Linked DNA regions of Homo sapiens: all the other regions are linked to region 3. The links are contacts of gene promoters, found by promoter capture Hi-C in human tissues and cell types (Jung and others, 2019). All regions are on one chromosome and are shown on one strand. The core of a region is centred on a gene start or on the middle of the fragment in contact, and the rest is flanking DNA. Distances in the headings are between cores, read along the strand shown. Region 1 overlaps ZIK1 (zinc finger protein interacting with K protein 1). Region 2 has its middle 4.8 kb from the start of ZNF548. Region 3 holds the start of USP29 (ubiquitin specific peptidase 29). Region 4 overlaps ZNF416 (zinc finger protein 416).

What was found. Contacts are between HindIII fragments. The study calls those that stand out against the background at their distance.
Region 1: a contact is called between a fragment that was not itself captured here and the fragment with the promoter of USP29 in region 3, in 1 of the 25 tissues and cell types used here (dorsolateral prefrontal cortex).
Region 2: a contact is called between a fragment that was not itself captured here and the fragment with the promoter of USP29 in region 3, in 3 of the 25 tissues and cell types used here (adrenal gland, dorsolateral prefrontal cortex and spleen).
Region 4: a contact is called between a fragment that was not itself captured here and the fragment with the promoter of USP29 in region 3, in 1 of the 25 tissues and cell types used here (neural progenitor cells).

What each region holds. Positions count from the first base shown.
Region 1 is chr19:57,589,608-57,592,498 of GRCh38, forward strand. ZIK1 (zinc finger protein interacting with K protein 1) reads left to right here. Exons shown (of 4, transcript NM_001010879.4): 4 at 404-2,891. The coding sequence ends at 1,668. Among named protein-coding and RNA genes, the nearest start is that of ZIK1, 6.9 kb to the left of the region's middle. The HindIII fragment of the contact is 6,497 bases long and covers 1-2,891 here.
Region 2 is chr19:57,383,684-57,386,383 of GRCh38, forward strand. No RefSeq gene overlaps it. Among named protein-coding and RNA genes, the nearest start is that of ZNF548, 4.8 kb to the right of the region's middle. The HindIII fragment of the contact is 6,124 bases long and covers 1-2,700 here.
Region 3 is chr19:57,118,728-57,121,532 of GRCh38, forward strand. USP29 (ubiquitin specific peptidase 29) reads left to right here and starts at 1,258. Exons shown (of 4, transcript NM_020903.3): 1 at 1,258-1,502. The HindIII fragment of the contact is 14,839 bases long and covers 1-2,805 here.
Region 4 is chr19:57,568,734-57,571,593 of GRCh38, forward strand. ZNF416 (zinc finger protein 416) reads right to left here. Exons shown (of 4, transcript NM_017879.3): 4 at 2,833-2,860. Among named protein-coding and RNA genes, the nearest start is that of ZNF416, 8.7 kb to the right of the region's middle. The HindIII fragment of the contact is 3,705 bases long and covers 1-2,860 here.

The sequences.
Region 1 (2,891 bases), core at 205-2,704, 470 kb after region 3:
ACTCAGTTTCAATTGTATTTTCCTGGGCTTGGGCACAGTCAACCTTCTGCACAGCATGCAGGTGTCACCAGCAGACAAGGTCCTCCTGAAGACTATGTGGTGAGTTTTAGGAATTGGAAGGCTACTCAAGGATAATTTTTGAGGCTGTTGGTAGAGGAATGGTTTGAAGGCAATGCCATTCCCTGTCCTTCATCCCATCCTTGTGTCCTTTATTTGGTGAGGCCTCCCTCATTCTGTGATCTTTAGAGATCCAGTATTGCAAAGCAACCCCTTCCTCAACTTGCCCCCAGCTCCATTATCCTCAAAACAAACCTGGTGAATCATTCGTTTGGTATGTGTGTAATGGGGCTTCTTGCTCTCAGCATAGTCAATGTATATTTCATCAGCGGTTCTCTGCTTTCAGGTTGTGGCCATGGAACAGAGGATGAAGAGACACCTTCTGACCAGAATGTTTCTGTAGGAGTGTCACAGTCAAAGGCAGGTTCATCCACACAGAAGACTCAATCCTGTGAGATGTGTGTCCCAGTCCTGAAAGATATTTTGCATCTAGCTGATCTCCCTGGGCAGAAACCATACTTGGTTGGAGAATGTACAAACCATCACCAGCACCAGAAGCATCACAGTGCAAAGAAATCCTTGAAGAGGGACATGGACAGAGCCTCATATGTGAAGTGCTGCCTATTCTGTATGTCATTGAAGCCCTTTCGCAAATGGGAGGTTGGAAAGGACCTTCCAGCCATGTTGCGGCTTCTGAGGTCCCTGGTCTTTCCTGGAGGCAAGAAACCCGGCACAATTACTGAATGTGGGGAGGACATTCGCAGTCAAAAAAGTCATTACAAGTCAGGTGAATGTGGGAAGGCTTCCAGGCACAAACACACTCCTGTTTACCATCCAAGAGTCTACACTGGAAAAAAGCTTTATGAGTGTAGCAAATGTGGGAAAGCCTTCCGTGGCAAGTACTCACTTGTTCAGCACCAGAGAGTCCATACTGGAGAAAGGCCTTGGGAGTGCAATGAATGTGGAAAATTCTTTAGCCAAACCTCCCACCTGAATGATCATCGGAGAATCCACACCGGAGAAAGGCCTTATGAGTGCAGCGAATGTGGAAAATTATTTAGACAAAACTCCAGCCTTGTTGACCACCAGAAAATACACACTGGAGCAAGGCCTTATGAGTGTAGCCAGTGTGGGAAATCCTTTAGCCAAAAAGCCACCCTTGTTAAACACCAAAGAGTTCACACTGGAGAAAGGCCTTATAAGTGTGGTGAATGTGGGAATTCCTTTAGTCAAAGTGCCATTCTTAATCAACACCGAAGAATTCACACTGGAGCAAAGCCTTATGAGTGTGGCCAGTGTGGGAAATCCTTTAGTCAAAAAGCTACCCTCATTAAACACCAGAGAGTTCACACTGGAGAAAGGCCTTATAAGTGTGGTGACTGTGGGAAATCCTTTAGTCAAAGCTCCATCCTTATTCAACACCGGAGAATTCATACTGGAGCAAGGCCTTATGAGTGTGGCCAGTGTGGAAAGTCCTTTAGCCAAAAGTCTGGTCTCATTCAACACCAAGTGGTTCACACTGGAGAAAGGCCTTATGAGTGCAACAAATGTGGGAATTCCTTTAGCCAATGCTCCAGCCTCATACATCACCAAAAATGTCATAACACATAGAGGCCTCATGAATGCAGCAAATGTGGAAGCGCCTTCAACTCAAGATCTATCATCATTTAGCTCCTGAAAGTCCACACTTAAGTAGAGCCTTAGACCTACAGGGAAAGTGCTGTCTCTGTAGTATTGTAGCAGTAGAGAGCCTTTGTGAGGGAGCCATCTGCCTGAAGTTGAACCTCATTCTTCCTTGTTTCTCTGGTAGAAACCATCTACCCTCTACCACCTTGCACAGTGGGCACTGGTCACTCCTATGTGCTAAGACAAGGCAGACATCTGTGTGTTCTCTTAAGTCTTTGGAGGAAATCTTGAGCAGTCTAAGCCTTTAGAGAAAATTCATTCTTTTTTCTGACTGATCACAGCATACGTGTGACCCAGTTTGGGTCAGGAGGGCCCAGCCTTGGTTCTGCTGGACACTTATGTGCAAGGATTCCCTTCATGTAAATTCTTGGTCTCACATGACACTTGGTCATTCTTCCAGCCTCCATGTCACCACGTGGTGAATGGCTGCCTCACATTGCTCCAGTTTGTGCACTAATAAAAGCCTTATATTTGAATCTACCTGTAGTCTTGGGGTTCTGTTTACTGTGTGGGGTGGCTGGGAGACAGACTTCAACTCTATATGAAGGAATGGATGGCTTTTGTGGGCCTCTGCAGGAAAGTAAGATGACAGAGTAATTCTAATTCTGGTTTTGGTCATACTTGCTTTGCTACCTAAAATCTCCTAGGAAAAAATGCAAGGTTTTGGTTATTCTAATTTGTGGCCTGGATCCCTATTCTTTCTGTGAGACTAGAGGTCATCCTGAGGAGAGGCCAGCTGTTATGACAAGCATGTGTGCTTCAGGGAATAGGACAATTTTATTCCATTGTTTCCAGAGGATGTCATATGATGCCCAGTGCTGCTGAGAAGCTTTTCATGGGGTTCTATAAGGAGGCATGCCCTGATATCAAACATTCCATAGGCCGATGTCACGCAGAAGACAACGCGAGTCACATGTGAACTGTAATTGGTACAGAAATACCTGGGTATTTCTGTACTGTGTGTACTGTAGCAAACTAGTTGGAATGTGCCTCTTATAAAAGTACATTTACAAATCTTCCCGTGACTGTGGCTTTGAGCAGTCATAGGACCTAGAAATCTGTGTATGTCCAATAGCTGAGGTTATTTTCAGCAAAAATAATTAAAGGGTTTTATTTTTTAATTCTTGTTGGTTTTCTAGGTTGTTCAC
Region 2 (2,700 bases), core at 46-2,545, 260 kb after region 3:
CAAAACATCCCCCAGAAATCCCCTGGTCTCAGACATAACTCTCTATGCTTCCCATTCCATGGCAGCAACTCAGCCTAACTCATCCAAAGCAAAAAAGCAATCCCTTCTTGCTTAAGTGACACAAGGATCCCCAGATGAACAAGTAGCTGTATCACCCTTCAATTAAATGTAATAATATTTACTTCTGGTGGAACCTCTCCTTCCTTGGAACAAAGGGCCCCCAACCAGCAGAATTTACAATTAAGAAGAAGTGGCCAGACACAGTGGCTCAAGCCTGTAATCCCAGCACTTTGGGAGGCCGAGGCAGGCAGATCATAAGGTCAGGAGTTCGAGACCAGCCTGGCCAACATGGTGAAACCCTATCTCTACTAAAGATACAAAAAATTAGCTGTGCGTGGTGGTGCGTGCCTGTAATCACAGCTACTCGGGAGGCTGAGGCAGGAGAATTGCTTTAACCCGGGAAGAGGGGGTTGCAGTGGGCTGAGATCATGCCATTGCACTCCAGCCTGGGCGACAGGGCAAAAAAAAAAATTAGCCGGGCATGGTGGCGGGCGCCTATAATCTCAGCTATTCAGGAGGCTGAGGCAGAAGAATCGCTTGAAGCCGGGAGGCAGAGGTTGCAGTGAGCTGAGATCGCGCCAATGCACTCCAGCCTGGGTGACAGAGCAAGATTCTGTCTCAAAAAAAAAAAAAGAAAAAAAGAAAAAAGAAGAAGGGTAGCAGAAATTCTGTGAATGAGTTACTAGGTTCAAAAATGAGGATGCTCAATATAATGCATAGGTTCAGAAAAAAATTACGATGAAAAGAATTGTCAAATTTTGTAACTGATACTTGACCTGGTTAAATTTGAATTATTTCTAATTCCCTATGTATATGTGCAGTGAGATAAAAGATAAATATTGTATGTGACATACTCATCATAAAATTATTTGTTGTTTATCTGAAATACATTCTAAATCAGGGGTCCCCAACCCCTGGGGCCACAGATGAGTACTATGGCCTGTTAGGAATGGGGCCATATAGCAGAGGGTGAGTGGCAGATGAGTGAGCATTGCTGCCTGATCTCCGCCTCCTGTCAGATCGGCAGCAGCATTAGATTCTCATAGGGGTGCAAACCCTACTGTGAACTGCACAAGAGAGGGATCTAGGTTGTATGCTCCTTATGAGAATCTAATGCCTCTGAAACCATCTGCCCCCAAACCCCTCTCCCTTATCCATGGAAAAATTGTCTTCCACAAAACCGGTCCCTGGTACTAAAAAGCTTGGGGATCACAGTTCTAATGACATAACTCTTTCCCTGATAATTTGCTTCTACTTAACAATTCCTTGTTTTATATAATTTGCTTACAGAATTCCTGCAGTTACAGTCTTGATGCCATTTATGTTGTGACAAACCTTCGTCATTTGTCATATTCAACTTATTTCATTCCTTTATCTATTGGACATTCATTAATGAGAAACACACTCAACAGTAGCATTCTGAGCCTAAAGACTCATGATGATAAACAGTGTAGAAAACATTACAAACTCTATTATAATTATTCTACCATCTCCATCTGATTTTAACAAAAAAGTTATTTTGTCTCTTTCTTTGGAACTAGTTGAGAAAATCATGCACCTTCCAAAGTTAATATATATTTGACTGTCCACCATTTTCATTAGTCAATGGGCAATTACATAGAGTCGAAGACCTTCAAAGGGAATTTTAAATACTCCTCAGTTCATCATAAATTATAAACTTGCATTTTGACATTTTTTGCATTCAATATACTCAAAATATAGACAATAGCAACTTCTACAAGAGTTGAAAAACATTGTGGGTACAGTGGCTCATGCCTGTAATCGCAGCACTTTGGGAGGCCTAGGCGGACAGATCACTTGAGGTCAGGAGTTCGAGACCAGTATGGCCAACATGGCGAAACCCCATCTCTAATAGAAATACAAAAAATTAGCCAGGCATGGTGCCACGCGCCTGTAATCCCAGCTACTTGGGAGGCTGAGGCATGAGAATCACTTGAACCTGGGAGCCAGAGGTTGCAGTGAGCCGAGATTGCGCCACTGCACTCCAGCTGGGTGACAGAGTGAAACTGTATCTTAAAAAAAAAAAAGAAAAGAAAGAAAAAAGAAAACACTGGAGAAAACGTTGGATTTTACAATGTATGTCTGGGTCAGTTAGTCTACCATTTCATATCCAAACTCATAACTAATTACAAACAGATGGAACCATTGAAAGCTTGCAAACTTTTAAATTATATTCATATAATTAAAATATAAGTAATAATTTATATTCAATTAAGAATAAATGGGGCCAGGCGTGGTGGCTCATGCCTGTAATCCCAGCACTTTGGGAGGCCGAGGCAGGCGGATCATGAGGTCAAGAGATCGAGACCATCCTGGCCAACATGGTGAAATCCCGTCTCTACTAAAAATACAAAAAAATTAACTGGGCGTGGTGGCGTGCATATGTAGTTCCAGCTACTTGAGAGTCTGAGGCAGGAGAATCACTTGAACCGGAGAGGCGGAGGTTGCAGTGAGCCGAGATCACACCACTGCACTCCAGCCCAGCGACAGAGTGAGACTCCGTCTCAAAAAAAAAAAAAAGAATAAATAGATTTTGATATCTCAAGGGAAAAAAAGTGATATTCCTATTTGTCTGCAGGGCAGAGCTGTAGTGGTCAGGCAGTCTCCTCAAACAAAGCC
Region 3 (2,805 bases), core at 8-2,507:
TCTTCATGAATATTCCACCCCTTGGTTAAATAAATATTTAAAGGTAGCTCCAAACCCCGCTGGGCGTGATGCTCTGTGGTATGCCTGCACTTTTCTTTCTTCAGTACGTACTTATTCCCGTCGCAATGAATCTCCACACTTTGTTCTGCTCATCCATGAATTCCTTCTCACGACAGTGTCAAGAGCCTGGACACCAGTCAGGGTCGAGGCCTCACCAGCATCTTGGGGCCTCACTGGGCACAGACGCGTGAGCGCCCGGCCTGCAGACCTGACTCTGGCAGCCGCTCAGGCCCTCAGAGGGAGAGATGGAAGCTGGCAGGACGCAGTTGCTACCGCGCGGACCCGGCCCCCGACCAGCCTTGGCCCCTCGCGCGCCGGGACAGGGCCACAAATGACTGCACCTGGGCTTCGCTGGCCCAGGCACCACGCGACTCTAAGCGCGCCCAAAGCGACCCTCTGCGCAAACTACCCCCGGGGACGACGTCACCCGTGAGGTCCCGCGGCGCCTCCTCCTAAAGCTCGGCTGGGAAACCGTCCGCTTCCCCAAGACTTGGGGGCTTGTGGCCGAGTTGTTTTAGTTTTCCTGTAGGATTCACGGGTGGCTGAGGCAAACACGCTTGAAGGCCTAAGACTTTTAAGTCTCTTCCGCACCCTCTCTTCTGTCTCTTCCACCTGGAGGATGACCGCTTTTTTGGGGGTTTTGTTGTTGTTTTGAGACGGAGTCTCGCTCTGTCGCCCAGGCTGGATTGTAGTGGCGCCATCTCCGCTCACTGCAACCTCCGCCTCCCGGGTTCAAGCGATTCTCCTGCCTCAGCCTCCCGAGTAGCTGGGATTACAGGCGCCCACCACCATGCCCGGCTGATTTTTGTATTTTTAGTAGAGACGGGGTTTCGCCACGTTGGTCAGGCTAATATCAAACTCCTGACCTCAGGTGATCCGCCCTCCTCGGCCTCCCAAAGTGCTGGGATGACAGGCGTGAGCCACCGCGCCCGGCCGGGATGACTGTTATTAACAATTCCCGGCGTGGTTTCTAGCACCAGCCCACCTACCACACCCCACCTCGCTTGAGGCTGAATGGGTAACAGGATGAACCCGCCCCTGGGCTGGTTTTCTCTGAACCCTAACTCCTGCCGTTACGCCCCACCAGCTCTAGGCCAGGAACTCTATGTGCCCCGGCCACGCTAGAGCCCGTACCTAGACCCGTAGGTCGGGAGGCCTGCGCCCGGCACTGCGCAGACGCAGCGTGCTGTGCCCAGAACTCTTCTGTTCCCAGGAGAATCAGGGGAGTCGGCGCCGGAAGGGGCGGGTCCGAGCTGAGATTTCCAGAGCCATGGGAGCCGGAAGTCCAAGGAACTGTACCTCCATCATGACGACTCCGGTTACGTAAAAACATTCAAACAGAAAATGCTGGCCAGGCTCATGCCTGTAATCCCAGCACTTTGGGAGGCCGAGGCGGGAGGATCGCTTGTGCCCAGGAGTTGGAGACCAGCCTGGGCAACATAGTGAGACCCTCCCCCCACCCATCTCTACAAAAAATTTTAAAATTAGCTAGCTGAGATCATGCCACTGCACTCCAGCCTGGACAACAAAGTGAGACTATGTCTCAAAAAAATTTAAAAATTACCCACGCCTGTAGTGTCAGATAGTCAGGAGGCAGAGGTTGGAGGATGACTTGAGCCTTGGGGATCGAGGGTGTAGTGAGGTATGATCGCACCACTGCACTCCAGCCTGGGCAACAGAGCAAGACCCTGTCTCAAAAACTATATAAAAGAAAAAAGGGCTGGGTCGGTGGCTCACGCCTGTCATGCCAGCACTTTGGGAGGCCGAGGCGGGTAGATCACCTGAGGTCAGGAGTTTGAGACCAGCCTGACCAACAAGGTGAAACCCTGTCTCTACTAAAAATACAAAAATTAGCTGGCCATGATGGTGGGTGCCTGTAATCCCAGCTACTGGGGAGGCTGAGGCAGGAGAATCACTTGAACCCCAGAGGTGGAGGTTGCAGTGAGCCGAGATCACACCACTGCACTCCAGCCTGGGCGACAGAGCGAGAGACTCCGTCTCAAAAAAAAAAAAAAAAAAAAAAAAACAGAAAAAAGGCCGGGCACGGTGGCTCACTCCTGTAATTCCAGAACTTTGGGAGGCCAAGGCGGGCGGATCAGGAGTTCGAGACTGCCTGGGCAACATAGCGAAACCCCGTCTCTACTAAAAATACAAAAAATTAGCCAGGCGTGGTGGCGGGCTCCTGTAATCCCAGCTACTCAGGAGGCTTAGGCAGGAGAATCACTTGAACCCAGGAAGCAGAGGCTGCAGTGAGCCGAGATCACGCCATTAAACTCCAGCCTCGGTGACAGAGTGAGACTCCATCCCCGCTCCGCTCCCTCACCTCCCGCCAAAAAAAAAAAAGAAAATGCACTGCAATAGAAAAATAAAAGTACTACACTTTGGTCAAACAGGGTAACTACTAGAACGTAAAATGATCTTTTTGAAACTATCCACATTTGTTACACGTGTTGAAAATGTAGGATATATATGTTATATATATACTTATATATGTTATATATACTTATATATGTTATATACTTATATATGTTATGTACTTATATATTATATATACTTATATATGTTATATCTACTTATGTTATATACTTATATATGTTATATATACTTATATATGTTATACATACTTATATGTTATATATACTTATGTTATATACTTATATATGTTATATATACTTATACATGTTATACATACTTATATGTTATATATACTTATATATGTTATATATACTTATATATGCTATATAT
Region 4 (2,860 bases), core at 8-2,507, 450 kb after region 3:
TGAAACTCTTCCACCTCAGATCATCAGGTACTAGATTTTCATAAGGAGTGTGCAACCCCAGTCCCTTGCATGCACAGTTTATGATAAGGTTAGCACCCCTATGAGAATCTAATGCTGCCACTGATCTGGCAGGAGGTGGAGCTCAGGCAGTAATGCTCACTCACCTGCCACTCACCTCCTACTGTGCAGCCCAGTTCCTAACAGGACATGGACCAGTATCCACAGGAGAGGGGTTGGGGTATCCTGTTCTAGTTCCAGGTAAAGACAATGCTGGCACAAGGCTTCCAACCCATCCTTGTCTACTATTCCAGAGAATGGAAGTGTCCTTCCTTTGGGGACCTTATATGTGGTATCCAGGGATGTTTACTCCTTTAGTGCTAGGCAGGGCCTAGGCCCACAAAATCAGCAGCAAGCAGTCACAGAGCCCCCTTAAGATTAAAGAGGAGTATCTAATCTCTGATGGGAGAGTGAGATAGGAGGCAGGACTCCATACCAGACTGAAGACTGGCTGAAACAGGGAACAGGCACCAAGAGCATATCTACATAATACACACCCACCAGTGCCATGGCAGTTTACCATCACCATGACAACACCCGGAAATTACCATCCCTTTTCTAGAAATTTCCAAATAACCCACCCTTTGCATGTAGTTAAAAGCGGGTATAAATATGATTGCAGAGCTGCCCCCTGAGCTGATACTCGACACACTGCCTATGGGGTTGCCCTGCTCTGTAGGAGCAGCCACAGAGTTGTAACCCTGCTGCCTCAACAAAGCTATTTTCCATCTACCACTAGCTTGCTCTTGAATTCTTTCCTGAGTGAAGCCAAGAACCTTCTTGGACTAAGCCCCAATTTTGGGGCTCACCTGCCCTACAACGCCACCTGATGTCCTACCTCTGTGCTTTCTAAAACCATCTCCCTTACCACTGGAAGAATATAACTTAGGCCTCAGGAAATGAGGATAATTCATGCTGACATAAGGAGCTCTTTAAAAAATAAAAAAGCAGCTGGGCGCAGTGGCTCATGCGTGTAATCCCAGCACTTTGGGAGGCCGAGGCAGCTGGATCACCTGAGGTCAGGAGTTTGAGACAAGCCTGGCCAACGTGGTGAAACCTCATCTCTACTAAAAATACAAAAATTAGCCGGGTGTGGTGGCACACGCCTATAATCCCAGCTACTCAGGAGACTGAGGCAGGAGAATCGTTTGAACCTGGGAGGTGGAGTTTGTAGTGAGCCAAGATCATGCCACTGCACTCCAGCCTGGGCGAGAGTGAGACTCCATCAAAAAAAAAAAGAGGCAGCATTATATAATAAGATACCTGGGGGATATTGATGGACATGCTACCTTGGAGTCCTGCCTAGCTCAGCCCCTTCTTCGAGAATAATCCACTACCCACAGTCCTGTTAACCAATCTCTGGGGATACCTGACCCAACCAGGCTAGATCAAGTTTTCTTGCCTGAATTCTGGAATAAGGACCTCAGACAGAGGGCAGAGTGTGCTGGGCACTAGGGTGAGGATTTGTGTTTAAAGGGCTGTTTCTACCCCAGTGATCCCCAGTGCAGACACAGGGAGACCAGGCAAAAGCATGTGAGACCAAAACAGAGAATACAACAGGACCTGTGGGTAGAGGGAGAAGGGCTTGAGATGCCTTTCTCACCAGGCAGTATGTGCAAGAGGATGGAATCAGAGGACTAGGGTCACCCACATGGGACAGAAATAAAGCTTTACCCAGCAAGACCAAGAGCCCACAGTTCTGCAGCCTCACATCTTGGTGCAGTGTCCTCTGGGCCAGGCCCAAATATCCACATTTCTACCAGATGAAGGTCAGGGCCATGACCTTGAAAGGCACCAATGCCTGGCAAGTCAAACAGAAAGTTGACCTCAGACTGTTAGATATTAGAACCTATTGCTTGGTCACTGGGAAAGGCACAGAGAACCAGGACATCTGAGGGTTGAGCTCCATGTAGGGCACAAGGGTGAGGGACACTGCCTCTGAAAATAGGGTAACTGTGGCAGAGGATAAAGCCTATGATGGGGGATGTCATTTCCAAGTTAAGGTTTCTGCTACCCAGGCTCCTTCTGATTCTCTACCTCCCACATGTCCTCCTGCACTCACATTAAATCATCCCAAGTAATCCTCCAGGTTGCTTGCCTGGCTCCATGCTCTGACAATCATGCTGCAGAATGGAGCTGTTCCCTCTAAGCCAGGCTATGCCTACACTGTCACACCTTGTACAAGGAGATTGTGTGTGTTGTAAAAATAGACACAGCCAGTTACTAGATGTGTAGATGCACTTTTACCACAGGCACATTTGTTTTGCTATTACCTCCTCCACTTTCTATTAATCATACCCAAAATTTCTGTACCAATTATGTCCCATGCTTAGCTCCCATCAGCTTGAGTACCACCATCTATGGAATCATGGGCATCAGGGCACATAGGTTCCTTTGCAGAAGCTGGGAAAAAGCTTCGTCTCAACAGTGCTGGGCATTACAGCCTGTAGAACAATGCAATAAATCCATCTTATTCCCTAAAGCACAGGAGCCTGTCATAACAGCCGACTTGTCCTCAGGATGACCTCTGGTCCAGAGAAAGTGTAGGGATCCAGGCCATAAATTAGGACAACAAAATTCTTGCATTGTTTCCTAGGAGGCCTTGAGCAGCAAGGCAAAGTGGACTAAAACCAGAACAAGAACTACTGTCATTTTACTTTTCCTGCACAGGCCAGCAACATTGGGGCCCCACAAAAGCTGTCCATGCCTTTATGTAGGAGCCCAAATGTGTTTTCCAGCCACCTCACACAGTAAACCAAACCCTAAGACCACACATAGATTTAAAAATAAGGCCTTTATTACC